Regions from separate parts of the Homo sapiens genome. Here all the other regions are linked to region 2. Evidence: promoter capture Hi-C in 16 types of primary human blood cells and fetal thymus (Javierre and others, 2016). All regions are on one chromosome and are shown on one strand. The core of a region is centred on a gene start or on the middle of the fragment in contact, and the rest is flanking DNA. Distances in the headings are between cores, read along the strand shown.

Region 1 (3,733 bases), core at 452-2,951, 320 kb after region 2:
CCTTGGAGATGAACACATAAGGACTCGGGAAAAGAACAGTTTTTTTTTATATTAAAATCTTAAAATCATAGTGAACTTTCTTCTAGGGAGTAACAAAGAGAACCTTGTGAGATACAATGAACATTCTTACAGTGATGCAAAATGAGTTTCAGAGGTCACTGGCTGCTGCTTACAATAACATTCAAATAGGCTTTCACAGAGCTTTGTAAAAGTAATTATATTGAGATTTGGTGAAAGTGGAAATGAGGGCAAACTATATAATAGTGTTTCCCAGGAACTTGATTTTTGCCAAATTGGCTTGACCCAGGATAGGAACTAAAAAGGACTTTATAACTACTCAGTGTCAACTTTATACCAAGCAAAAAGGTAAGAACCCCTTAGTAACTATCCCAGCAAAGCATACAAGCTTCAGGTCAGCACCGAGGCTGATCTACAAACTATAATGTGGTTTTGAAGGAGTGTAATCTAATTAATCTTGTCTTTAAAGTTTATTCTCCTTCAGGGCTTTAGTTGTGATGGAGGGAGGAGGCAGAGAGAGCCTGAATGGAAGGGACTGAGTAAATCCCCACTATGGGGATTGCTCTTCGTGAAGACTGTTTTAGTGGGCTAAAACAGTCTTTAGCCCACTTTAGTGAAGTTTGTTTTTAGTGGGCTAAAATCATCCAAATTTCTCAGTATGATAAAGTTGTCAATATAGATGCATTTTACATAATCATTTAAATTTCCTTCATTTCAGTTTTATAGCAGAAAATATTTGTTTTATTATATTTTTCACATCTCATATCTGTCAGTTTGATCTGAAATGACTGCAAGATTTTGGGGTGCTTCATGGGGTTTTGTTTTGCTTTGTTTTGTTTTTTAACAAATCAAGTATTATATGAGCTGGTCCTTTATGTGAAAAGGAGAAAATCTGGACTACTTTTAGACTATCTATTATTTGCAGGTGCGCATAAAATTATGGCCCTCAAACCTGAGTATAAAATAGCATAAGAGAGATGCTATTAGATATTAAGATTTCATTCATTTATTCAACAAGTATTTATAAGAACTTGGTATTTGCCAAGCACTGTGCCAGATAATTAGAGTACAAGAATGAGCAAAACACTGCCTCCACAGTGTTTATAGTCATGTCCTTACAGGCAAAATGCAATTATAACATAGTGTGGTAAGTGGTCTGAATGAAGAAATGCAGAAGACTCAGGAGAGGAAATAAACCCACCCTTGGGTTGTCAGGAAAGGCTTCTTGAAGGAAGTCACAGGGAAGGTAAGACCAAATATGTAGGTAATATACAAGTGGAAGTTAGACATGTGTGGGTGGGTTCAGTGTGAGTTGGGATGGGGTTCAAAATAGAAGGTGGAAGAGGGTATGGTCTGACCTCTGTATCTGCAGGCTGTGCATCTGCAGATTAAACCAAATGCAGATGGAAAATATTTGAGAAAAACAACCAACGACAACAACAAAAATACAACAAAAAAGAATGATACAAGCTTTTAAAATACAGTATGACAGCTATTTACATAGCATTTATATTGTAATGTAACCATCCAAGGGGTTCACCTTGCCTGCTGCCTACATACAGCTGATTTATCAAGACTGGGGAATTGCGATAGAGAAAGAGTAATTCACGTAGAGCCAGCTGTAGGGGAGACTGGAGTTTTATTATTACTCAAATCAGTCCCTGGAGCATTTGGGGATCAGAGTTGTTAAAGACAATTTGGTGGGAGGGGAGGGGCATTGAGCCGGGGGGTGTTGATGGGGCATCACTGTCTTCTTGCACTGAGTCAGTTCCTGGGTGGGGGGTCACAAGATCAGATGGGGCAGTTTCTCAATCTGGGTGGTGCTGGCTGTTCATCAAGTGAAGGGTCTGCAAAACATCTCAAGCATTGATCTTAAGAGCAGTTTAGGGAGGGTCAGAAGCTTGTAGCCTCCAGCCACATGACTCCTAAACCATAATTTCTAATCTCGTGGCTAATGTTAGTAGTCTAGTCCCCAGGCGAGAAGGAGGTTTGTTTGGGGAAAGGGCTGTTATCGTCTTTGTTTTAAACTATAAACTAATTTCCTCCCAAAGTAAGTTCCGCCTATACCCAGGAATGAACAAGGACAGCTTGGAGGTTAGAGGCAAGATGGAGTCATTTAAGTTGGATGGATCTTTATCACTATCTCAGTCATAATTTTGCAAACGCAGTTTCAGTATTAGGTATTGATATGGTTTAGCTCTGTGTACCCACCCAAATCTCACCTTGAATTGTAATCTCCATAATCCTCACGTGTCAAGGGTAGGACCAGGTGGAGGTAATTGGATCACGGGGGCAGTTTCCCCTATGCTGTTCTCGTGATAGTGAGTTCTCATGAGATCTGATGGTTTTATATGCATCTGGCATTTCCCCTGCTTGCACTCGCTCCATCCTGCCACCCTGTGAAGAAGGTGCCGGCTTCTCCTTTGCCTTCCGCCATGATTATAAGTTTCCTGAGGCCTCCCTAGCAATGCAGAACTGTGAGTCAATTAAAGCTCTTTCCTTTATAAATTACCCAGTCTTGGGTATTTCTTCATAGCAGTGTGAGAATGGACTAATACGGGTATTATAAATAATCTAGAGATGACTTAAAGTATAAAGGAGGATACCTATAGACTATATGCAAATACGGTAATGCCTAACCTTGTTTTTACTCTAACTCGTTACTTTTAAGTTTTCCCTGCTTGTCTCCTTAGTTACCCAGCCTTGTTTTTCCCATACGAGTAAGACTTTCTCTTGGCTGGGAAAGCCGGACAAACTCCATTTGGCTTCTTGATGTTTACAAGACATTAAGGGCTCCTTACCCAACCCCCTTCCTCAAGGAGTTAACCTGTGTAAGCAGATCAGCATTTCAAAGGAGCCCAATTGACTGATGAGGTACTGAAACAAACAATGTAAGAAGTTCCCAGGATTTTACTCAAAGAGGTAACAACATAAAGCCTTGAGACTGTGTCCGGCATAGCATCTATATCTAACTCTAATAAAGGACTTAGAGCCCCACACCTGGTTCCACTGTTTTTTTGTAACCATTTGTCTTTTAAATTGTTTATCTCTCTGTAACCATTTGTTTCTTTGATTCTTGCATGTTTTTACTTCTGCAGAATTATTGCATTTGAGTTCCCCTCCCCTTCCTAAACCAAGGTATAAAAGTTAATCAAGCCCCTTCCTCAAGGCCGAGAGAATTTTGAGCGTTAGCCATCTCTTTGGCCGCTGGCTTAAATAACGGACTCTTAATTCATCTCAAAGTGTGGCGTTTTCTCTAACTTGTCTGGGTATAACAATACTACACCATTTTATATTGGGCATTTGAGCATCTGCAAATTTTGCTATCAACCAGAGGTCCTGGGACTAACCCCCAAAGACACCAAGGGAGGACTGTATTACCTCTTACCCCTCAAAAACGAAAAAAAAAATCTCAGCTTGTTGTGAAGGTTCACAGCAGAGGAAGGAATGCTGCTGCAGCTGAAAGAAATCCAGTCTGAACTTTATGTCAGTGCGTGAAGCTGGAGGTGAAAACCCTGAGATGAGGAGCGGGGGATCAAGCCTGATGACCTTATAATCCATATTAAGGAATTTAGACTTCATCCCAAAACTGAGGAGCCATTAAGCTGGTGATCACTGATTTGCATTTAGAAAGAGTATTCGAACATCTACAGCCCTCACACCTCACCTTTCATCATGTGTAAAGTCAGATGAATGATAAGGGGTTAACACTTGA
Region 2 (3,995 bases), core at 722-3,221:
CATTAGAAATAATCTACTCCAATCATACATCTGTATATGCATCAGATGTGGTGTCTGAAAACAAGACATTCAATGTGTTTCCCTGAGGAACAGAGCAATCACCATGCCCTTTTTTGTTCCACAAGATACAATAACGGTTATTATTCTGGCCATATAGCTTTGTTTTGTCTGTATGTTTTAACACAAAAGAATTATTTCCACTCATCACATCAGAGATTGTGTTTAAACTTAAGTTTTAAGTAAGGCCTTGGGATTAAAGGCTATTTCTTAAGTACCTAAGTATCTAGTACTCCAGTGCCATTATCTTTTTGATATTTCTGTAACATGTTAGATTATGATCATTTAAAAATTAGTATCAGAGTGCTGCGTCCTATTATTACTACATATAGTCTATACAGAAATGGATAAGACATGTTGAAATAGCACATGAAGAGCTCAAGTTCAAACACACAGGCAGCCCTAAGGAGCTGCCTGAAGTGCCTGGTAGCCAGGGCTTCTCATCACTGAGTAAATGATGCACTCAGCTTCCCTCAGAACACGAATATTTTCTGAGCAGTAGGGCCTCGGGTGTGGGACATGCAGACCCTTATTGGGAAAACAATTGAGTGTTAAATGGTACCACAAGGAAGACTGGTGTGACCCTAAACTGAGGGCAGGGACTTGAAATGAAAGGGATGCAGTTCAGGGGAGTACATGTCCTGCAGCATGTTGGGAGATAGCAAACCAACCTCAGATTTCAATTTTGTCAAGGATGATACAAGAACTAGTAGTGTCTCGGTGACTGTGGTCTACTCAGAGCTCCATCACAGCTACCCTGAGCCCAAGGCAGTCAGGTGTGGTCTGATTTCATAAGGTCTTCAGTGAGACGGACCTGGATGGGGATTCTGGTTCTACCACTGTGAGAACTATCTTTGCCCTATTTTCTCTTTTGAAAAATTGGGATAACACCCCTAGCAAAAATATAGTGGAGACCAATGTCTATAAAGTGCCCAGGAAGCACATCTAGCACTTAGTAGCTACTCAATAAATGCACATTACCGCTATCGAAACGGCCAGCCTGTGTGGCAACTTCCTCACCTCAGTCCATCTGACTTCCAACAGGCACCCGGGAGCACCAAGTAATAAATTGTGAAGAGTACACTTTGAAACGTATCATGTTCTACGCACATGTGTAGGGTATTATTATAGTTCAAGAGAAAGAGGGAACCCGCTGGTGTCTGAGAAGAAACCCGCTGGTGTCTGAGAAGAAACGGTGAAGGGTGCACTACGAAGGGAATATAAACTAATCAAACATTCTTGAATGGCAATGACAGTCACTAAAGTTGACACTTCCTGCAGTCTTTTAGTTTAGAAACCACACTTCCCGAGACGTCCCCCATCCCAACAGGGATAAAATCCTCTAGCTCAACTCAGGTATATCCCCACTATTGGGCCAGGGAGACCTGCGGATGGCGAGAGCAGGTTCTCTTAGGAGGGTGTGGATTGTGAGCTTGTGCGCTGGCGAGGAGCAGAAGGTCAGGGAGGCACCGTAGTTAATGAATCAATAAACCAAACAGCCGATCAATCACTTCCTGCAGTCCGAGTCCGGCGAGGGCTAATCGATTGGTCCGGGTATTTTGAAAGGAAAAACGGCGGTGGATATGTTGTCAAACGGAGGGGTGCAGGAGAGGCGGGGCCAGGCCTCCAGGTGACCCCTCTGGCTTCCTGGGCCTGCAGAGGCGCCGAAACGTGCAGGCGCCGGCGTCCATGAGGCGTGGGGCGCGCCGGGCGAGTCCCTGCTTGCAGGAGGCGCCCGAGAGGCCGTCGCGTACCCTGGCAAGAGGAGCTGGTTAGCACCTCCCGACCCCGAGAAGGCCCAGGGGGCGCCCGGCGGGCGGGGCGGGGACCGGGCGAGGCCCGCCTCCCATTGGCCGCATAGCGCCGCCCAGCGCGGGCCGCCGTTATAAAGCAGCCGCCGGCGCCGGGTGCCTCACAGCACGCTGCCACGCCGACGCAGACCCCTCTCTGCACGCCAGCCCGCCCGCACCCACCATGGCCACAGTTCAGCAGCTGGAAGGAAGATGGCGCCTGGTGGACAGCAAAGGCTTTGATGAATACATGAAGGAGCTAGGTGAGGCACCCGGCCTGGCAGCGCCTGCAACGTGGCGTGTTGTGCGGTCGTCTGTCCCTAGGTCCCCGTCAGCGTGCCAGATTCTGGGGCAGGAGATGCTCGGCGGCCTACCCCCATCCCCTCCCATCTTCCCCACCACGCGGCCGTTGGGTGCAGCGCGCGCAGCACCACGCGGGCAGGCGGCGAGGAGCAGGGAGCGTGCGCGCCTCTTGCCCGCCCGCGGGCCGCAAGATTCCGGAGGTGGTCCACCCCGTGGTCCACCTACCTCTGCTTCTTTCCCTTCGCCCAAACGGCAGCCCTTCCGCATTGCTTCCTGTCCTTTAGCGCGCGCACCCGTCACCTCACGCTGCACTTCTTTCGACCCCCTCCAGGCGACCCTGTATTTCCCTTTTTTCCCCCTTTACTCATCCTTCCCCTTCCTGCCACCATTCTGTCTCTCCCATTTACCCCATCGTGGCAGCACCCACTCCCCTTTCCCTCCCTGTCGCATCTTTTGTTCCCTGTGGCGCGCAGGTCACCCTCCGTTTTCTTCATGGGGACGCGGTGCTGGCGCGCAGTTTCCCGCAGAAATCCTGTGGAGGGGTCTGAGTGGCGCTACAGCTTCAGCTTGCATTCCTCTGTCAGCCCCGTCTCCCCCAGGTCCTCTGCTCGCCCTTACCAGTTGAGCCGAACCCTTTGGATTGGTACCCCATGGAACACCAGGGCCCCCGAGAAGCGTGGCGCTGGCGGTGCCGACCTGCTGCTGGCACTGCCGGGCCGGGGCGCCGCAGTGGGCGGGTGGCCTGTGGGAGGAGCGCAATGAGGCCTGGGGGTGGCCGTGTGTTGCCATCCTGGCCTCTGCCACTTGAGGGTGAGGAGGAAGGAGGCAGTGGGCTTTGCTGGAAAACCGTAACAGAAACTGCCTGGCCCTCCTGCGGCTAACTGCATGCAAGATGGGTGTGGCCCTGCAGAAGGCAGATGACTTCTTGAAGCGTTCCGAGGGAGAATGAATCTCAGTAGTAAGATTCATTTCTCACTCAAAACAGTGCTTCATTATAAATTACTGTCCTTTTCTATGCCAGTGACAGATTGCATGCTGATTGAGACACTGGATAAATTGCAAACAAAAATGGACCTTTGTCACAGGCCACTAGGAAGTGAGATGGAGTTAGCATAGCATGGATCCTCTCTGGAAGGGAGCTTCCAGCCCTAAGGGATGGCTGGGATTTATGAGGGTGCTTCAGAAGCCGGTATCCACAAATGTTAACCCGGTTGCTCGCTGGTGAAATAACTACCGTGACCCTCTATTGATACCTGGTCGCCGTGGCACTTCGGAATCACTCCTTCAGTACCCTTTATCCAAGACCATGTGGTGTTAAGGCTGGTTTATGGTGAATCATGAGTGTATTTTTGATACTATCAGTAAAGAAGGCAGTATTTTTCTTTTTCCTTGTAAACCTACATCAAGATGACTCTGGAAAAAGCGATTTACTGCACCTGTCCAATAAATAACAGTGTGTGTGTGTGTGTGTGTGTGTGTGTGTGTACAAGTTTAAGGCCCAAAGAACACTTTTCTCTGCCTGTAGAAAGCAAATTGTGTGTAGGTTTGGAGGGCTTGTTTCCAGGATTCTGGAGTCTTGAAGGTTGTCAAGACTCAGTTCATTAGGGAGCAGTCACAATGTGAAAAGAGCAGAGCCCATTTATTTGTCCAAAGTGAGAGTACATAATGACTCAATTAACAGCATAAGGCACCAGCCCTGAGCTGGCAAAAGAGAAGGCTCCAAGGGGAACTTTAAAGCCTGGCTGGGTGTTCTTCATCAAGACAATCATGCTGCGTAGGTTGTAGTCTCCTCATTTATGAAACAGTGATTTGGCCTGGATCTAAGATTCCTTATACATGTTAACT
Region 3 (4,031 bases), core at 343-2,842, 350 kb after region 2:
CAAAGGTAGGGGAAGATCCTTACCTTGGGGAGAAAAAGCAGCAGATGAAAGGAGGACAGAAGGTCAAAGAGAGAAATTCCATTTTTCTGGGGGCTGCAGTGCCCCGACATTATAACAAAAGACTGTAACAAGGGCTTATGGGAGTTATGAGCCAGTAATGGTGGATGAAAACATATATATGTAATACATTTATTCTGATATACACATATGTATCATATCACAAGTACATTTCTTAATGGAAAGGGGCCGTATTTACTCACTTTCATTTTCCCAAATCCATAAACACCTGAACTGTTTCCTGCTGTTTCTGTCCTGGTCACACCCTTCCCAGCGTGGGAGCCAGGCCATCTTCCTCTCGGCTACCTGTCCCCAGCAGTGCGACTGGCGCTGCGCCATCTCTTACGGTGACTACCTGTAAGTGATCTCTCTGCCATCTGTCGGCCACCTGTCCCTAGCAGCGCGACTGGCGCTGCCAGTCATCCGGGCGCTGCCCCATCACTTACGGTGACTAACTGAGCCTGGGATGCGCCAAGTTTCTCTAAGCTTTTCGGAGTAGGGAAAATGAAAAGCGGCAATGATTCCACAGAAGCTGCCACAGGGGTTAAGTGCAGTGGCGTCCGCGAACCGCTACTCCAACATCGGGAGTGTTCCTGGTCACCCCAGGGCAGCTCCAGATAACGTGGCAGGCAAGAGTCACCCAGATGCGGCCTTCGCCCCAGGGGCTGACCGCACACCGCAGACCGCCCTCGCCCCCACCCCAGCAGAGAGAAGCGCCGAACCCGGAGAGGGTGGCGAGGGGGGCGGGGAAAACAGGAGCCTCACCTCGAGTCGGCGAGCGGGGCGGGGAAAACAGGGGCCTCACCTCGAGTTGTCCTGCTAGCTGGGTGCCTGGTGCTATCCAGCCTCAGTGCTTTGGGAGGCAGAGGGGCTGCCCGGGACCAAAAGGTCGCCGCTTCTTAAGCCCATCAATGAGGGGGCGTGGTTGCTTTGCTGGGCCCCGCCCCGAGCTGCGCCCTGAGAGGCTCTGCTAGGCCCGGCCCGGGTCTTCACCGGCGCAGGAGCCTCAGATCTGGCCTCTTCTTTCCCAGTTCTGGTTCTTCTAACTTCTTTTCTCCTGCTTGCCCCTTCTTCTCTAAATCTTTTTAAAATTCAATTCCTCTTTATTTTTCTCTTTTCTTCTTTATTCTTCCATTCACTCGCCTTTTCCCATTTCTCTTTCTTTACCCTTTCTCTCATTTTTCCGTAGTACCATTTTGACAAAACACAAATTGGAGATATGACTTCGGTTGAGCAGCTTTTATTTGCCAAAGCATTACCTGGTAAACTTATATTAATTTTTTTTAATAGTCAGTAGCCAGAACTAACTGCCCTTTTTCTCAGTGATATATTTAGATACCACCTATCGAGGACTTACTATGCTTTCAGCAATTGTGTTTTTATATGCATTATTTTTGTTAAACGTTGCCTGAGGTACGTATAATTAGCTTCATCACACAGATGAAGAAACTGAGGCTCAGAGAAGGTAAATGATTTGTCCTCACACAGGTCACAGGTCACACAGCAAGAGCAGAGCAGTGAAACACACTGACTCCAAAGTGTTGGGGCTCAGAAAACGACACCCCAAAATGAAGTCCTCAGAAGCAGCCTCACAGAAAAAAAGTTATTTGAAGCCTCTTGCCTTCCTGTCTCTGGCCCCACATTCTCCCTCAAGGCTTGCCTTAGAAACTGGAATTCTTCTTCCCCAAGGCAGGTCCTAGAAACCCAAAAATATTATTCTAATCTCCCCAATTTTTCGCGTAAAAACAGACCATAAAGAAATTATCCAACCCACTTTTTCTGACTGTAGGTCTCAAGACCCCCATTCCACAGAGGGTCTTGCCCAATGCACAGAAGGAAGGAATGCACCACAGAGAGGCCAAATAAAATCTAAACAGACAGGCTTTGCTGGGTTTCCCCACTCAGTCTATTTGCATTACACTATACACTTTTGGTCCAATCCTATTTCTACACAGCTGGTTATACTTTGTTTGAACCTAAACATAAAAATGGACTGTTCCCCTGTATCTTGGGTCTTCATTCTGAAGGCTCCCATGTCACTTAAAACTATGATCAAATAAATTTGTACCCTTCTCTCCTATTAATCTGTCTTTTGTCAGTTGATTTTCAGCAAGCATTCAGAGAACAAAGGGAAATTTTCCTTTTGGTCCTACAAAAGTCCTCACGCAGAGAATGTACGGCACAAGGAGGTTGCATTATACGAGGTACAAGGACTAGTTTATGGTCCTTAAAATGTTTCCTCTTCTTGAAGGGGCAGCATCGTGGTACATACATCATCATCATGCAAAAACTGTTGCACAGATATAAGATGTCCCAGCCACAGCAGGAACAGAAAAGTGAGCTATTTGGCTCCTTGCTTAGGAAGTGATTGTTTCTCTTCATTTAATCTAAGGACAAGATGTTGTCACAATCATGTTGCCAATGAAACACTTCCCAGAGATTAATGATATGAACTGTGGACCCAATTCCCACACCCCACAAAGAGCAAGAAACTTGTCTTTAATTGTCTAAAGAATGATGCCTAGGTATCTGGTTTGGATATCTCTATTTGCCTATTAAATGATTTTTTGTTTTGTTTTAAAGACAAGCTTTCAGAAACTAGCTATTTCATTCTTCATTGTCAATCATCTTAAAAATCTTGCCAACTGCATGATGACAAGTGTTAATTCATAACTAAATAAAAATTTCCAGGCTTTTGCAGAAATGTCATCCATCATCTTTTAACCTTTTTAAATGAATGTGGTCCCAGTGATTTGGCAAAGCTGCTAAAATCAGTATAATCAATTTGAAGCAAGAGAGATTCAATATCACCTATCTTATTCCTTCAAATGATAACATTTCAAATTACCTGTGTCAGGTGAGCAAGAAGCCTAGTATTTTTCTAGAGACCTTAGCATCTGCCTCACAATTGTTGTCAGGTAACCTAGATTTTTTCAGTCCAAAGAGGCCGTTCTGCTTCCAAATGCCTACTGAAAGTGAAATGCAAAATCTGTCGGTACACAGGGAAGTCTTAGTGTTCAGATTTGATTGTGGTAAAGCTGCAAACTGGTCTCACAAATCCAAAGGATCTTTGGTCCAATATTGTGAAAGTAGTTCAGAAAGTTGCAGAGACCTCAGTACAGGATGCACTACCTCTGAGTTCCCAAAGGGGCAGTATCTAAAACTCTGGTCCCATCTGCAGCCACTGTTCCTAATCCTAAGAACGTCTGCCGTGCCCAGGTGTTGTCGGGGGCAGGGGACAGCAGCACAAACTCTGCTTCCTGGCATGATGTCCAGCTCCTCACTCTTTCAACCTTCCCTAAGGGAAGCTCCCTCTTGGAGGCCTTTGGTATCCTTTCCTGTCAGCTGACTCCCATCTGTGAGAGAGGTTGTAATTACGCTGAACCTCAGAATGAAAGAGAGGTGAGATCCAATGCCCCTGACACCTCCCCAGACAGCTGAGCATACAGAAGAGAGTTCTAGGGAAGGGTGGCCCTGTGAAGCCACAAGAAGGTCTGTTATCCTTTCCCAAAGGCAAGGATGACAGTGCTTACTTGCCCTGTATTTGCATAATAAAGAGAGGCCGCCACAGGAATGAGTGGGCAATTTCCCTCCCCAGAAATCATAGGCATCTTGTCAACTGCACTTAGTCTTTGGAGTTGACTTCTTTTAAATGACCTCTCTCTTCATTAAAAAAAAAGTTTTAGCTTCTACATGCCATGATATTCTCAGTTAATAGTTAATGATTTAAGTGGACTCTGACCTAATATAATTATATATACACCATGGCAGCTGGTCAGGGGTGGAGTGTCCAGGATAGCTAATAAGATCTTACGTTTTGCTACCATAATAAAGTATCATATTCACCTTGTACTCCATAAAACATTCTCAAACCAACACAACTGAAAAGTTACCGCCTTCCTCTGAACTCCTGTGTAGCATTCTACTGTTGGAAGCACTCTTTGGATGCTTAACATTTATGGTGTTGGGTATAT
Region 4 (4,183 bases), core at 1,090-3,589, 330 kb after region 2:
GGCTATGGAAATGTTCCAGATCAAAGGAGGCTAAAGAGACATGACATCTAAATGTAATGCTCACCCTAAACTGAATCCTGTACCAGTGGAAGGCAAATGTTATAAAGGATATTATTAGATCTACTGACAAAACTGACAAGACTGAATATGGATGGTAGATTAGACAAAAAGTATATTTTTGAAGTCAATTGTACTGTGGTTACAGAAAAAAACACAGTATTATATACTCTAAAATAATGAGGGAGAAAAAAATGTGTGTGTACACACACACACACACACACACACACATACAGAGAGAGAGAGAAGATGAGAAAGAATAATTAAATGATAAAGCAAATGGAGTAAAATATTCACAACAGGCAAATCTATTAAAAAAGGCAATTGTTCTTTGCACTATTTTATTTCTACAACTTTTCGTTATGTTTGAAATTATTTTCAAAGAAAACATTTCAAAGCTACATTACAAAATTAGAATTATGGTACCAATCCCATTTCTATTAATATTTCATTTCTAAAGGAAAATATATTATTTTAAGATGTTAAATGATCTAGAACTTTAGGTGTAAAATGAAAAGAGCTCACCGTGAATAGGAATGCAAGAAAGCTTTTCCATATTGGAAAGAATAGTTCTTACAATTTCTGATGTTCTGCAATAGCCCAGCTCGGTCACCAAGAGTGATTTGGTAATATCTAAAAAGGAAATGTTTTAAATAATCACTAGATTTTAATAACTAGAATTCTAAAAAAAGACACTTTTATTCAGAAGAAAATATAACATGTTTATCCCTCTTCCTAGTTTTATCAAATTCATTTCTAAGTTTTAAAATATTAAAACTGATAAACTTATTATTTCCAAGTCAGCTTTTTATAAGCATCAAAAAGAGTCCAGCTCCTTAGACCATTCCCCAAATGTACAGAATATAACCAATTTGCCTGCAGGCATGATACGTGTAGTGAAAAATGAGCAAATATCTTAAACACAAAAAGGTAGATGTTAGAAACTAAATTCAATAGCGAACTTATATATAGATTTGAAAGAAAACAAAAATGAAAATTACATGGTAGCTCTTCTCTCACTTCCATTTACAAAGCTGGCAAATTATCCAAGGCTTTCCATTTTCCTCTGAAACATCCTGACTGCAGCTCAGGACACACTTGACACCCCACACTTCACCTCTTCCCATCAGACAAGATATATGTTCACCAGGTGTGTTTGTCAGCATTTTTGTAACTGTTGTACTGCTTTTTAAAATTAATTTTAAGTTCCAGAGTACATGTGCAGGATGTGAAGGTTTGTTACATAGGTAAATGTGTGCCATAGTGGTTTGCTGCACCTATCAACCTATCACCTAGGTATTAAGCCCAGCATGCATTAGCTACTTTTCCTGATGCTCTCCTGTCCCCCAACTCACCCCCGACCGACAGGTCCCTGTGTGTATTGTTCCCCTCCCTGTGTCTGTGTGTTCTCATTGTTCAGCTCCCATGTACAAGTGAGAACATGAAATGTTTGGTTTTCTGTTCCTGCGTTAGTTTGCTGAGGGTAATGGCTTCCAACTGCATCCATGTCCCTGCAAAGGACATGATCTCATTCCTTTTTATGGCTGCATAGTATTCCATAGTATATATGTACCATATTTTCTTTATCCATTCTATCTTTGATAGGCATTTGGGTTGATTCCATGTCTTTACTATTGTGAATAGTGTTGCAATGAACATATGTGTGCATGTATCTTTGTAACTGAATAATTTATATTCCTTTGGGTCTATACCCAGTAATGGGATTGCTAGGTCAAATAGTATTTCTGGTTCTAGATCTTTGAGGAATTGCCACACTGTCTTCTACAATGGTTGAACTAATTTACATTCCCACCAACAATGTAAAAGTGTTCCTATTTCTCCACAACCTTGCCAGCATCTGTTATTTGACTTTTCAGTAATTGCCATTCTGACTGGTGTGAGATGGTATCTCATTGTCGTTTTGATTTACATTTGTTTAATGATTAGTGATGTTGAGATTGCTTTCACGTTTTTTGGCCTCATGAATGTCTTCTCTTGAGAAGTGTCTGTTCATGTCCTTTGCCCACTTTTTCACGGGGTTGTGTTTTTCTTGTAAATTTGTTTAAGCTCCTTGTAGATGCTGAATATTAGAACTTTGTCAGATGGATAGATTGCAAAAAGTTTCTCCCACTCTGTAGGTTGCCTGTTCTCTTTGATGATAGTTTCTTTTGCTGTGCAGCAGCTCTTTAGCTTAATTAGATTCCATTTGTCAATTTTTGCTTTTGTTGCAATTGCTTTTGGCGATTTCGTCATGAAATCTTTGCCCGTGCCTATGTCCTGAATAGTATTGCCTAGACTTTCTTCTAGGTTTTTCATAGTTTTTGGTTTAACCCATCTGGAGTTAATTTTTGTATAAGGTGTAAGGGTCCAGTTTCAATTTTCTGCATATGGCTAGCCAGTTCTCCCAGCAGCTTTTATTAAATAGGGAATCCTTTCCCCATTGCTTGTTTTTGACAGATTTGTTGAAGATTGATGATTGTAGATGTGCAGTGTTATTTCTGAGTTCTCTATTCTGTTCCATTGGTCTATGTGTCTCTTTTTGTACCAGTACCATACTGTTTCAGTTATTGTGCCTTGTAGTTTGAAGTCTGGTAGCATGATGCCTCTAGCTTTGTTATTTTTGCTTAGGATTTTCTTGGCTATATGAGTTCTTTTTTGGTTCCATGTGAATTTTAAAATAGCTTCTTCTAAATCTGTGAAGAATGTTAATGGTAGTTTAATGGGAATAGCATTGAATCTATAAATTACTTTGATCAGTATGGCCATTTTAATGATATTGATTCTTCCTATCCATGAGTATGGAATGTTTTTCCATTTGTTTGTGTCCTCTCTGATTTCCTTGAGCAGTGGTTTGTAGTTCTCCTTGAGGAGGTCCTTCACTTCCCTTGACGGCTGTATTCCTAGGCATTTTATTCTTTTTGCTGTACTACTTTTAATAGTTAAATAATTTAATACTTTGTAAAGTGAAGAATAATTATGCAAAGGAAAAGAGTTGTTTCTATGAAAGCTACCACATTTCTTTGGTTCATACATATTTCTATTATCCTATGATTTACTTTACCTATTTTATATAGATTATCCTCTGATTTACCTTACCTATTTTATATATATTATATTTATATAATTATAATTTTTATATAAATATAATATATATTATATTTTAACTTTTCTATAAAATATATGTATTATATTTTGTTATAATAGGTAAGGTAAATCACAGGATAATTTTGGGATAATTTTGTTCTTTATTAAAATCAAAAAGCCTATATGATTAGGGATTAATGAAGTGGGGATGACAAATAAATGTACATTTCAGACTTTCATCACCAATGAAAAAATAAAGCATTTTTATACACTTAAAACTGTCATTTTAAGCAGTGTTAGATTTTGGATAAGGATTCAAAATGTAAAAAAATCTCTACAGTAATACAATGTTAATAGAAATTAGTCATGCACTGAGTTCATTTTGGTGAGCTACCATTGTTTAAATTTCAGAAAAGTAGAGCCGGGCACGGTGGCTCATGCCTGTGAACCCAACATTTTGGGAGGCCAAGGAGGGTGGATCACAAGGTCAGGGGATTGAGACCATCCTGGCTAACATGGTGAAACCCCATCTCTACTAAAAATACAAAAAATTAGCCGGCGTGCCTGTAGTCCCAGCTACTCAGGAGGCTGAGCAGGAGAATCGCTTGAACTTGGGAGGCAGAAGTTGCCATGAGCCCAGATCATTCCACTGCACTCCAGCCTGGGTGACAGAGTGAGACTCCGTCTCCAAAAAAAAAAAAACAAAAAAACCAGAAAAGTGATTTCTTAGTTCAAATTAGTGAAACCTTTAAAAGGATTGTCTTTAAAGATCATTATTTGAGAACAGTGCTTTTTCAGACATATTCTGATATTCACATTCACTTTATAACAGAATTACAGATTAACCTTTTAATTATATCTTTCTTAAAAAGCTGTCAGAATTCCATTTCTTCAGGAGATATTTTCACCAGTGTGTAGTTTGATTCCACAGATTAAGCTTTTGCTTTCTTCATTATTATTAAGAACTTCTTACATATTAGAGAGATTGCCATTCATTGCTTTTTTGTCTTTTCGAAGAGACACAGGCAGACTTGCTAGACTA
Region 5 (4,030 bases), core at 425-2,924, 360 kb before region 2:
CCAGGCGCAAGCCATCCTCTCATCTCAGCCTCCCTAGTAGTTGGGACCACAGGCACATGCCATCATGCCCAGCTAATTTTTTATTTTTTGTAGAGATGGAGGTCTCCCTATGTTGCCCAGGCTGATCTCAAACTCCTGGGCTCAAGTGATCCTCCCTTCTCAGCTCCCCAAAGTGCTGGGATTATGGGCGTGAATCACCACACCCAGCTGCGCAATATTGTGAATGCACTAAGTGCCACTGAATCGTGCACTTTAAAAATGGTTAACATAGTAAGTTTTATGTTATGTGTATTTTGCCACAATTTAAAAAAAGGGATCACGGTAACACATACCTCATAGGGTAAAGTCTTAAATTACATAGTAAGCACCAAATCATTGTTGTCAATGATGGTCAATGGCAGGGATAAAGGCTAGGAGAAGATAGAGGATCAGAAAAGTCAGGATTGAAGGGACGGACTGGGAAAGAAGTAAGCTGAGGCCTGGGTGGTAAGAACATGAGGGATGAGTGCAGGAATTGTGTAGTGGACATCGAAGAGGTGGTGTGGAAGGAAAACGTGTATACATGTGTATAGTAAGTTAGAGGGAGATACAGCAACCTTTTTATAAAATTCTAAGCAATGGACTAGTGTACACAAAACCAGCCTGAAGTCAATGGTAGGTTGATGTTCTGTGGTAAGAAGAAATTCAATGAATTTAGTACAGCATGCATGACTTTTCAAGCTTTAACTTATGAAGTAATCCAAGCTTCAGTTTGAGAGAGAGAGTTCACACCAAGAGCCTTCCTCTTTTTTTTTTTTTTTTTTTTTTTTTAACATTCCTGGGTGCAATTAAAAAGAGTAGTCAGGGTGGATGGACATTTTTGTTGGGCAATACAACAGATTTCAGGAGAGGAGGCTGTAATATTCAGTCCCACCTTGTCTGGCGGCAGCTCTGATTCTAGAGTAGTCTCGATAAGCACTTTCCAGAGAGAAAGAATAATGGGCCGATAGCTAGTAGTGCAACCCACAATGGCTCTGTGGGACACTCCTCATTTTCATGTCACCCTCAACCCTCCTTCACCTGCCAATATTCTGGCCATGATAGGCTAGATATGACGTCTATGGATTGCACACAGGAAAAAGCTGTAATTCTTGGAGTCAAAACATAGAAGGGAGAAGAGACAGGGAATAAGATATGAGCTGCTACAGACCCTTGCAGCTCACAGCTATCTACTTCCTTGCTCCTTGCCTAGGCTTGGTGCTTAGAAGCTCCTTTCTAGCAAATGCTCCCTTAGAAAAGGGAAATAAGATGCAGATTTGCAGCAGGCTAGGGCTAAAGAAACCCTGATAGGTGCTCTAGAAGCTGGGGGAAAATAGTTATCAGCTGTGTTTACAAGCTGTATTTCTGTCTTGCAGGTGTGGTGGGTGGAATTGTTTACAGGTGAAGGCGTCCAGCTTCCTCTATTCCAAGCCCTTGCCTCATCCATACATTTTCTTCTGCAACTCGGTCTCCAACTACTAAATGAGAGTCCTTGCCAGTTGGGTTCCTGGGCAGTTTATTAGGCAGAATTGGGAGAATGGAAGAGGGTAGGCCAGAGAAATGGAAAGGTTGGTGGAAAGGAAGTGAGTGAATGGGGCTAATGGCTTAGAGTGGCAATGGTGATCTATATCGCAAAAAGGGGAGAGAAGGTAGGCCAGGGGACTAAGCAGAGAGAAGCCATGTGGGCTGTATTGGAAGAGGGAATTTTGGATTTTACAAGTTAGAGGCTCTTGGGGATTGCCGGAGACTTATGGGTTGGGGGAGAATTGGCAGAGAAGGAGGTAGAGGCTTTGAGGGCTCTTGATTAGAACCCGTGAGGGAGAGGGAAGTATAGATTCGAATCCTCTTTAATTCCTATTTGGCAGCTGGACTGGTACTCTTTAAACATAGAGATGAGACCACAGGAGATCAGCATGTATTTGGGTCTCATAAATAAAAGTAGAGACTTGACTGCCCCCTGGTATAACTTGTCCCTTTGTTCTGAGAAAGCGATCCAAATGATGCAAAGACCATTGATTCAAAGAAACACGGATGAGAAGCCATAGCTCTAAGAAGCAAAACTCTCCAGTGGGACATTGGAAATGTGCTTTCTGTGATTTACCCTGAGATGCTTAAAGGGTTTGTTTTAGCAGCAGCGCCATCTTTCTCTGTATTTGTATTAGATGGAGCTTATCTCTCCAAACCAACAAAACTCTGTTTTTTGAAACAACAGAAACAAACTGTTTCTTTCATAGAAGTTCCTCTTTCTACACACACACGCACGCACGCACGCACGCACACAAATGAGTTGTAACTTATCACAGCTGTGGAAGCAGAGAATGTCCAGGGCAGCTTGAAAGTTAAGGAAAGATCTCAAGGACCATTGATTTAGGAAAACTAACTCCAGGGGCATTCATTTCACCAGCCACTTTCTCCTTCCCCCCAACAGGTGAGAGAAGAAGTTTAAGTTCTGCTTACAAATGAGGTGAGAGTTCATTTAATCTATTCACCATGACCAAAGTTACAAAGGGCTCTCTGGTTATTAAGCATTCAGTTATTTTTTCTTGTTTTCAAAAATTGATTTTTTTTTCAGTCTAAGAAAGTAAATAAAGCTTATTTCTTTCAATCTTTCAAAATATTACAATGAGATTATTTGAGCCTCTGTTCTGGTAAAATCATCACTTTTTCAAAGATGATTTCTTGCTGTTGTCTCATTATTTACATGGTCAGAGAGGTTACTTAAAGAGTACCGCTTTAAAATCTGGAGCATTGAGAGAGAACCACAAACAGCCCTATACCATGAAAAATCCTATTTATGTGGGAGGGAAATTTTCTTAAACGTCAGTTTTTAAATCAGTTTGGGACATTAAATCTCTCCACCTCCCACTCTCTCCTCCCTCACTGACTTCTGAGGAACAACAACCACCAAGAAAAAAAAAAAAAAAAAACCACTGTGTTTTGAATTCCATTATGTTTCCAAACTTCCAAGTCAGAGGAAATTATTTAAAATGACTTACCCCACACAAATACACATAAGGAGGGAGGGAAAAACAAATTGCCAGCTCACAAGATTGTTTCTCTACTAACCACCCGCTTTTGCTGACCTGACAAATTAAAAGTATGTAATTTCCTCACGGCATTTCCGACATATTTTAGTGATATTTTGTAAGAGTTAAGAGAGTTCTGTTTGCTCTTTTTACTCAAGCCTCTTGGACTTTGGTCCTCTGAACAGGATCCTAAGCTTGGAAACTCTCCAAGTGACAGAAAATTGGCAAGTTCTTCATCGTTGATTCCTTACTGGCTCTTTGGAGAGGAAAGGAGTTCTGCTCAGGATTTGGCTGAGCCCTTTGCTTGGCACCCCAGCCAGTAACTCAAAAGTTCAAGGAACTTGACAGACAGAGGCTGTTTTTCTGGTGAGAGATTTGAACATGCCCAGTTGAGTCTGTCATCGCACGTCTGCATCTTGTCTCCTTCCAGAGGAGGCTTATTTCTGACCAGGCTTGTGATGGATGTATTCTATGCGGGAAGACTTTTGCCTGCCCCTGTGGCATTTACCCTGGATCAGGGTGAGCCCTGAATCTCTCTATTGCCTCAATCCATACAGCCTCACTGTGCCAAGTGGAAGCAGTGGCAGTGTGTGTATGTGTGTGTGTTATTCAAACAGTTAAAAAAAAAAAAAAGACAGAAGGCTTAGGCAGATTTCCAGAAAACAGACTGTGTCAGTCTAGACTAGTAAAACCCAGCCAGTTTAATTTCTGAATTTGTGGTTATTATTTCTGAATTTATTTTGTATTTAACCTACTTCCCCCTTGCCGCATCCCCACAAAAAAAGAGTAAAAAGGTGAGAAAAATGACCAACCAGTTTCAACCACTATCCTGGCATCATGAAAGTTAAAATTCCAAAGATTAGAGATTATATATTGCTCCTATGAAAAATAACCTTTGTGTGAATCTTTAAAGATTCCTACTTTTTAAAAAAATAGCAAAAGCAGCATATGTTATTGTTGAAACTTCAGAAAAAAAATAAGCGAAA
Region 6 (3,713 bases), core at 995-3,494, 380 kb after region 2:
AAATCAGTATAAACACCTTTAAAACATGAATACTGAACTTAGTAAAATGTTATATTGTATCTAATTATGTCAGATATCTGATGAGAGTGCTTTTTATTATAGAAATAGTTTCTTCTCTCTTACACAAGACTTTAAAGCAAATCCAAACAGACAATTTAACTGTTTTGGAAAATGTATTCACTGCAGAAATGCCCACAATAAGCCATGCTATCTGATGGTATGGTAATGTGAAATGGCATGGTAACGTGAAATAAAAAAAATTTAACTAGATAATTTTTACTTCAAACCTGAAGCAAAAGTACAGAATGCTGAGTTCATTACTTTATGTATCTATTGTAACTAGGAATTACTACATTAAAAATATTCATTCTTACAATGTTTGTTTTTAGTTGCCTAGATATGTAATGGGCCAGGTGCTATATGAACACTGAAGAATAAAACAAAAAAGGTTCTCTGCAAAGAAAAAAAAGTTGGCCTAGGGTACTCAGTATATCCTTACAAATTTAATTATATATGGTTTTTGAAACTAAAGAGAAATGTTTTTCCAAACAGTTAACTTTCTAAGTGGGTGTCTCTGCACCTATATACTAAGTCAAAATTTCAGGGGACCATAGATATTTAGAAACACAAAATTGCTAATTGACTATTTCAGTTGATGTTATATTTATCAACTGTACTTCCTGGGTATGTTTCCTAAAGTACATTCTTACATGCAAAATTTTTTAAATCAGTGAAACAAACATTATGTCAATTCTTGCAAACCTAGACATAGTAAAATAAGAAACAAGTTCCAAATTTTTGACCTGGACAAAGAGAATTTAAACCAAGCATATCATACATCCAAAACACATATCCATTGATGAGTCACCAAATCTGGGGAAAAGCAACTGGGATTGACTATGAGGCTGCCTTAATTAATCTTCGTCGTCTCGTTGCAAAGGTATAACCTGAATTTCTTTAGCTATCCTTTCTGCTAATATTCTATTATTTGCAGCAATTACTCTTCGTGACATCAAATCAAATGGTCCACCTAAAAGCAAACAAGTATGAAAAATAATTTTATCTGGTACAAAAATAATTCATATAAAACAAGTATAGCAATATGTACTATGGTCACATAACATTTTAATACTTTCAGTTTTCTTAAACAAAAATCTACTGTTACATTTCTACAATGTATAAGCTTAGACAATATATAACTGTTTCTAAGCATAATTTTTGAGTAAATAATGAAGTCATACCAGTTAGAAAATGTCATATTTTCTCTATTTTTGTGCATTCTTATTACCTCTTTATTGTTTAAGAATCTATGGACAGAAAATGTGAATCCAATGCATTTTCATACCACTGTCCTTCCCATTTCCTTATTTCTTTGTTGCCTTTCTCCCAGATCACTGGTGAATTCTTTCAGCACAGATTCACCCTTCGGTTTAAAATTTTCACCATCAGTTGAAAGCAATTATTTAACTTCTCTAGTCTCAACACAGAAAGTGATGGTGGAGGAAGTCCATCATCAACTATCACCATTGTCACCATTCAAAGAGCTCTGGGTATAAGCCTCAGACTCGGTGACTGTCTAGGCCAAGGGTGTCGAATATTTTGGCTTCCCTGGGCCACACTGGAAGAATAAGAATTGTCTTGGGCCACACATAAAATACACTAGCACTAATGACGGCTGATGAGCTAAAAAAAATTTTTTTAATCGCAAAAAACTCATTATGTTTTAAGAAAGTTTACAAAGTTGTGTTGGGCCACATTCAAAGCCATCCTGAGCCACATGTGGCCCATGGACTGCAGGTTGGACAAACTTGGTCTAGGCTTTTTCTACAGCCTTTCAGGAGTACCTGAAACTCACACTAGAAAAGGATTAGCCATTTATCATTGTAAGTCTCACATTACCATTACCTCTTATCCTTACCTCTATCTCCTAAAGCTTATTTTGATTTTGCACACAATTATATAGCTTGTTTCTGCTTCAAAAACTGCAGTATAACATATATCAAAAAGTTTTTTAAATTCTACATATGGACAAAAGTCCAACAGATGTGTGGAGATCTGCTTCACTCTCCATAATTTTACCTGTAACATCCATTAGCACGCCACCAGCTTCAGTAACAATAATGCCAGCTCCTGCAACATCCCAGCAGTGAATTCCCATTTCATAATATGCATCTGCTCCGCCAGTTGCCACAAGGCACATATTAACAGCTGCTGTTCCAACACTCCGGATCCTAACAAATAGAATTTAGAAATAAAATTGGAAAAAATAATCCTTTCAAGTAAGATATTCCTCCTTAACTTCACTTTAAGTGTCGATTGAAGAAACTTGGAACGATCTAGAGGATAAAGATTTTAAGAGGTGATATCTAATTGTAAAATAAAAATATGTATAAATCTAATTATCATCGTATATTATATAAATCACAAAACCCTCACAAAGCAATAATTTAATAAGATAAACATTAAAACAATAATTTTTCATAAAAAATAAAGACAATGCTTAATTCTACAATAATGAAATGCAAGTATATTAATATTTGTCTAAATCCAGCTACTAAAGCTTATATTATTTTACACACATATACACATACCCACAATGCAAATAGTCTCTAGGAGGTGTAAAATATCATGGTATGGGTCATTTTCAACTGGGTGTGCGTCATACATGTGCCTAAAGCAACAACAGCATGCCAGGCTCTGCAAAGACCTAAGCCTGCCTTGGAAAATTACTGCAGGTTTGCCCTCTCATAGCACCTCTTCCTTGAATACAAGTTAAGTTGAATATAAATACACTTGATAGCAATTATAGTAATAATTTATTCAGTAAAGAATCAATGTTAAAATTAATGGGTGAGTCTGATAATTTACAGAGTGTCAAAGTGTCTCTCCACAAGATACATAATAAGTACAATGGAAAAATAGCATCTTTACAATGGTCTACCATTACCAAGTTATCCAAGTTAATATCACTCATAATGGGACAAAAAGAAATGTGCCTGATAAAATGCACTGAGAAGGACAGAACATTACTTTTGCGGCATTCCTGCCAAAAATCCATGATCCAAATATAATCATGAGGAAACCAGACAAATTCAAATTCAAGAGACAGACTACAAAATAATTGGCCTATACTTCTGAAAAATGTCAAGGTGATAAAAGACAAAGACTAAGCAAGTTCTAAATTAAAGGAAATTGATGAGAAATGACAACTAAATGCAATACATGACTCTAGACTGGATGTTGGATTAAAATTTTCAAAATTTGAATAAAGTCTTATATTAGATTATGTATCCATGTTAATTCCCTTACTTTTATCATTGTACTGTGGCTATGTTAGACAATGTCCCTTTTATTAAAGACACACACGCTGAAATGTGTATTTAGAAGACAAACGTCATCATGTCTACAAGTTACTTTCAAGTGGTTTTTACACAAATTCCTTCTCCAACTGTTTAAAGCGATGGTAATAAGGGAGTGAGTTCTGTTCAATGAGATCTTTCACAGTTTATTTATTTAAAAACATGGAAAACTGATGACTAATGTGGCATTTGTTTTATATCTCAAAAATAAAAATAAAAAAATTGCACCTAAGTACATCCTTTATGCCAAATAAATTTTAAAAAGGATTAGAATAACATGATGTCATTGATTTGGCATGTTTTCCATCATATGTTTTTGAAGCACATTAAATTTGAGAAAGTAGTAGTAAGTGC
Region 7 (4,151 bases), core at 198-2,697, 300 kb after region 2:
TAATAAATTCAATTTTATTCTTCCTATTGTGTAAGACTCGGGATAGACTGAGAACTTTTCCTGCTTCTCTAACATTTTTGATCCAAGCTGCTTTATCCTAGAGGTTCTCTTACTCTCAGGGGAGAAATAGTAGGACTTTGCTTTTGACTGCATGGCCTAAAAGCATGGCCTGGAGCAAGTCTCCAAGACAAGGGCAAGAGAAAATCAACAGGACGGGGAAAAGATTGAGAAGAGTCTGTTGCTGGGTAGAAATGCTAAACTCTAATCAGAGTGCCAACAAGGATACAATGAAAGCTGGAATGAAGGCAGAGCCCACTCTTAAAGGCTCTTATGCCTTTGTTGAACCCATAGGGGCCAATGCTACCCAATCACAAGGCTTGAAAAGGGAGGACTTTGATTGTGATCATAAGTGTCTCTTTCCTAATATTTTTACCTGTGGAAACACTCTTCTGCTCCAAAAGTCTGGTTTGACCCTCAGGAAGGGGAAGGAATTCCCTACCCATGACTAAGATTGAATTTCTTAGCATCCTGGGGGGATAAAGCTCAGAACCAGATTTAACTTCATTTTGAACAAATAAGGGAATGTAACATTTCTACATCCCTAAACAGATACAGTGCCAAAAAGGTCTTCTCCATGGCATATTATAGTCAATTTTTTGAATGTCAAAGACAGAGAGAATTCTAAAAGCAGCAAGAGAAAAGCATCTAGTCACTTATAAAAGAACCCCCATCAGATTAACAGTGGATTTCTGAATAGAAACTTTACAAGATTGGAAAGAATGAGATAATATATTCAAAATGCTGAAAGAAAAAGAGTTAGCCACAGATTCCATACCCAGCAAAGTTATTTTTCATAAATGAAGGAGAAATAAAGTCTTTTCTAAACAAGCAAAAACTGAGAGAATTAATCACAATTAGACTGACTCTACAAGAAATGCTCATGGGGTCCTACACCTGGAAGTGAAACAGCAGTATCTACCATCATGAAAACACACAAAAACATGAAAACAACTGGTAGAGCAAACACACAAACAAGGAAGAGGAAAAGCTCAAATATTACCAATACAGAAAACCACCAAATGACACTGAAACAAGGAGAGAAAGAAAAAAACAAAAAATAAACAAAACAACCATAAATCAATTAATAAAATGAAATAAGCATCAATGTATCAGTAATAACTTTGAATGTTAATAGGTTAAATTTCCACTTAAAAGAAATACATTGGCTAACTGGAATTTTTTTTTTTTTTTTTTTTTTGAGATGGAGTCTCGCTCTGTCACCCAGGCTGGAGTACAGTGGCATAATCTCGGCTCACTGCAACCTCTGCCTCCCGGGTTCAAGTGATTATTTTGCCTCAGCCTCCCCAGTAGCTGAGACTACAGGCGTACTCCATCACGCCTGGCTAATTTTTGTATTTTTAGTAGAGACAAGGTTTCACTATGTTGGCCAGGCTGGTCTCAAACTCCTGACCTTGTGATCCTCCCGCGTTGGCCTTCCAAAGTTCTGGGATTATAGGCGTGAGCCACTGCACCCAGCCCTGGATTTTTTAGTGACCCAACTATAAGCTACCTACAGGAAACTCACCTCACATGTAAAGACACATGTAGACTAAAAGTAAACAGATTGAAAAAGATATTCCATTGAAACAAACCACAAGCAAGCAGAAGTAGCTATAATTATATCAAATAAAATAGACTTTAAGTCAAAAATAGTAAAAAGAGACAAAGAAGGTCATGATATAATGATAAAGATATCATTTCAGCAAGAGGTTATGACAATTCTAAACATAAATGCACCATGCACTGAGGATCCAGATATATATAACAAATATTACTAGATTTAAAGGGAGAGAGAGACTGTAATACAGTAATAGTTGGGGACTTTGATACCCCATTCTCAGCATTAAACAGATTATCTAGAAAGAAACTTAACAAAGAAATATTGGATTTAAACTGAACATTAGATCAAATTAACCTAACAGACATTGACAGAACATTTCATTCAGCAATTACAGAATACATATTCTTCTCAGTACATGGGAGATTCTCCAGGATAGACCACATGTTAGGACACAAAACAAGTCTCAGCAAATTTTAAAAAATCAAAATTATATTAAGTACCTTCTCAGACCACAATGGAATAAAACTAGAAATGCATAAAAAGAGAAACATTGAAACTATACACATATATGAAAATTAAACAACAGACTCTTGAAAGACCACTGGGTCAAGGAAGAAGTTAATGAAGAATCAAGAGCCTCTTGAATCAAATGAAAATCAGCACACAACATGTCAAAACCTATGAGATACAACAAAAGCAGTGACAAGAGGGAAGTTTATAATAGCAATAAGCACCTATATCAAAAAAGTAGAAATATTTCAAATAAACAATCTAACAATGCACCTCAAGCAACTAGAAAAGCAAGAAGAAACAAAACTCAAAATTCACAGAAGGAAAGAAATAACAAAGATCAGAGCAGAACTGAACAAAATAGAGACAAAGAATCAACAAAACAAAAAGTTTGTTCATTTAAAAAGATAAACAAAATTAATAAAATATTTGTTAGACCAATCAAGAAAAAAAGAAAGAATGCCCAAATAAACATAATCAAAAATGAAAAAGGAGACATTATAACCGATATCACAGAAATACAAAAGAGCATCATAGATTATTATGAATGACTACACACTAAAAAACTGGAAAGACTGGGGGAAATGAATAAATTCCCGGACACATACAACCTACCACGATTGAGTCAGGAAGAAATAGAAAACTTGAACAGACCAATAACAAGTAATAAGATCAAGGTAATAATAAAAAGTCTCCCAACAAAGAAACAGCCAGGAATCGATAGCTGCACAGCTGAATTCTAACAAATATTTAAAGAAAAACTAACACTAGTTTTCTTCAAACTCTTCCAAAATTGAAGAGGAGGGAATGCTCCCTGACTCATTATATAAGGCCAGCATTACCCTGACACCAAAAGCAGACAGGACACAACAAAAATAAAAAACCTACAGGCTAATATCACTGATGAATGTAGATGCAAAAATCCTCCACAAAATATTATCAAACTGTGTCCAAAACCCCATCAAAAAAGTAATACACCATAATCAAGTGGATTTATTCCAGGGATGCAAAGATTGTTCAACTACACAAATCAGTCAATGTGATACATCCTATCAATAGGCTGAAGGACAAAAAACATATAATCATCTCAATGGACAAAGAAAAAGCATTTGATAAAATTCAACATCCTGGAGAGTGACACCAGCAAGTTGGGTGAGTAAAGAAGCCTAGAATTCTTCCCCCAACAAGAAAGGACCAAGTCAATGAATAAACAGCTAAGATTTGACTAGAGTGTCAAAGGCGTGGTGTTAGACTGCAGGAGGTGAGTGGAGATGCACCTGTGGTGATTGCAAGTCCAGGAGAGAAGCATGGAGGCACCGGCCTCTGCAGCTCCATCTTCCCCACTCAGATCAGATTGGCCTGGACTCAGAAGAGACTTCCCATTATAGGTAAAAGGTAAGTAAGCAAAAGATTCTTACCAGCCTCCATTGCCACAGCAGATACCTACAGTTTTTACAACAGGCAAATCCCACAGTCCTCACAATTTCTGAGACCAGTTTGAAGAGCTACTAGGAATTCACACAGCTGCATTGCCCTAGATTAGGAACACAAGGTGTGTGGCTTCCCACCCTGACCCAATCCCCTGTGAGCCAAGCTGCTGCAGATATCTCTTTGATATATTGATTTCCTTTCTTTTGGATATGTACTCAGAAATGGAATTGCTGGATCATATGGTGATTTTATTTTTAGTGTTTCTGAGGAACCTCCGTACTGTTCTTCATAGTGGATATTCTAATTTACATTCCCACCCACAGTGTACAAGGGTTCCTCCTTCTCCATTTTCTCACCAGCATTTATTAGATAATAATCTTTTTGAGGAAGGCCATTTTAACTGGTGTGAGATGATATCTATTATAGTTTTGATTTGCATTTCTCTGATGGTTAGTGGTGTTGAGCACCTTTTCATATACCTGTTGGCCATTTGTTTGTCTTCTTTTGAGAAATATCTAGTCAGATCTTTTGGTTATAAATCCCTTGTCAGATGGATAGTTAGCAAATATTTTCTTCCATTCCGTGGATT

The links. Contacts are between HindIII fragments. The CHiCAGO score rates a contact against its expected background, and 5 or more counts as called.
Region 1: a fragment that was not itself captured here is called in contact with the fragment with the promoter of FABP5 in region 2 in 3 of 17 cell types (M0 macrophages, M2 macrophages and M1 macrophages); the score reaches 8.8 in M0 macrophages.
Region 3: a fragment that was not itself captured here is called in contact with the fragment with the promoter of FABP5 in region 2 in 8 of 17 cell types (M2 macrophages, M1 macrophages, M0 macrophages and 5 more); the score reaches 10.0 in M2 macrophages.
Region 4: a contact is called between a fragment that was not itself captured here and the fragment with the promoter of FABP5 in region 2, in 2 of 17 cell types (M2 macrophages and M0 macrophages). The highest score is 10.4, in M2 macrophages.
Region 5: a contact is called between a fragment that was not itself captured here and the fragment with the promoter of FABP5 in region 2, in 1 of 17 cell types (neutrophils). The highest score is 6.2, in neutrophils.
Region 6: a contact is called between a fragment that was not itself captured here and the fragment with the promoter of FABP5 in region 2, in 2 of 17 cell types (M1 macrophages and M2 macrophages). The highest score is 6.2, in M1 macrophages.
Region 7: a fragment that was not itself captured here is called in contact with the fragment with the promoter of FABP5 in region 2 in 5 of 17 cell types (M0 macrophages, M1 macrophages, M2 macrophages and 2 more); the score reaches 15.0 in M0 macrophages.

What each region holds. Positions count from the first base shown.
Region 1 is chr8:81,597,559-81,601,291 of GRCh38, forward strand. No RefSeq gene overlaps it. Among named protein-coding and RNA genes, the nearest start is that of FABP12, 66 kb to the left of the region's middle. RefSeq lists an enhancer at 2,366-3,141. The HindIII fragment of the contact is 430 bases long and covers 1,487-1,916 here.
Region 2 is chr8:81,278,565-81,282,559 of GRCh38, forward strand. It overlaps FABP5 (fatty acid binding protein 5), which reads left to right and starts at 1,972. Exons shown (of 4, transcript NM_001444.3): 1 at 1,972-2,110. The coding sequence starts at 2,032. LNMICC (lncRNA associated with lymph node metastasis in cervical cancer) reads right to left here and starts at 2,860. Exons shown (of 2, transcript NR_186603.1): 1 at 2,769-2,860; 2 at 1-1,812. RefSeq lists enhancers at 1,615-2,449, 2,450-3,284 and silencers at 1,641-1,720, 1,731-2,020. The HindIII fragment of the contact is 5,532 bases long and covers 1-3,995 here.
Region 3 is chr8:81,630,186-81,634,216 of GRCh38, forward strand. It overlaps the pseudogene IMPA1P1. Among named protein-coding and RNA genes, the nearest start is that of IMPA1, 54 kb to the right of the region's middle. RefSeq lists a silencer at 569-863. The HindIII fragment of the contact is 2,102 bases long and covers 542-2,643 here.
Region 4 is chr8:81,613,139-81,617,321 of GRCh38, forward strand. It overlaps the pseudogene IMPA1P1 and the pseudogene NIPA2P4. Among named protein-coding and RNA genes, the nearest start is that of IMPA1, 71 kb to the right of the region's middle. The HindIII fragment of the contact is 3,474 bases long and covers 603-4,076 here.
Region 5 is chr8:80,923,243-80,927,272 of GRCh38, forward strand. No RefSeq gene overlaps it. Among named protein-coding and RNA genes, the nearest start is that of ZNF704, 50 kb to the left of the region's middle. RefSeq lists an enhancer at 3,143-3,287 and a cis regulatory region at 3,208-3,221. The HindIII fragment of the contact is 1,865 bases long and covers 743-2,607 here.
Region 6 is chr8:81,658,437-81,662,149 of GRCh38, forward strand. IMPA1 (inositol monophosphatase 1) reads right to left here. Exons shown (of 9, transcript NM_005536.4): 8 at 2,080-2,231; 9 at 1-1,030. The coding sequence ends at 915. Among named protein-coding and RNA genes, the nearest start is that of IMPA1, 26 kb to the right of the region's middle. The HindIII fragment of the contact is 627 bases long and covers 1,932-2,558 here.
Region 7 is chr8:81,580,883-81,585,033 of GRCh38, forward strand. It overlaps a transcript of FABP12 not described here. Among named protein-coding and RNA genes, the nearest start is that of FABP12, 49 kb to the left of the region's middle. The HindIII fragment of the contact is 5,486 bases long and covers 1-4,151 here.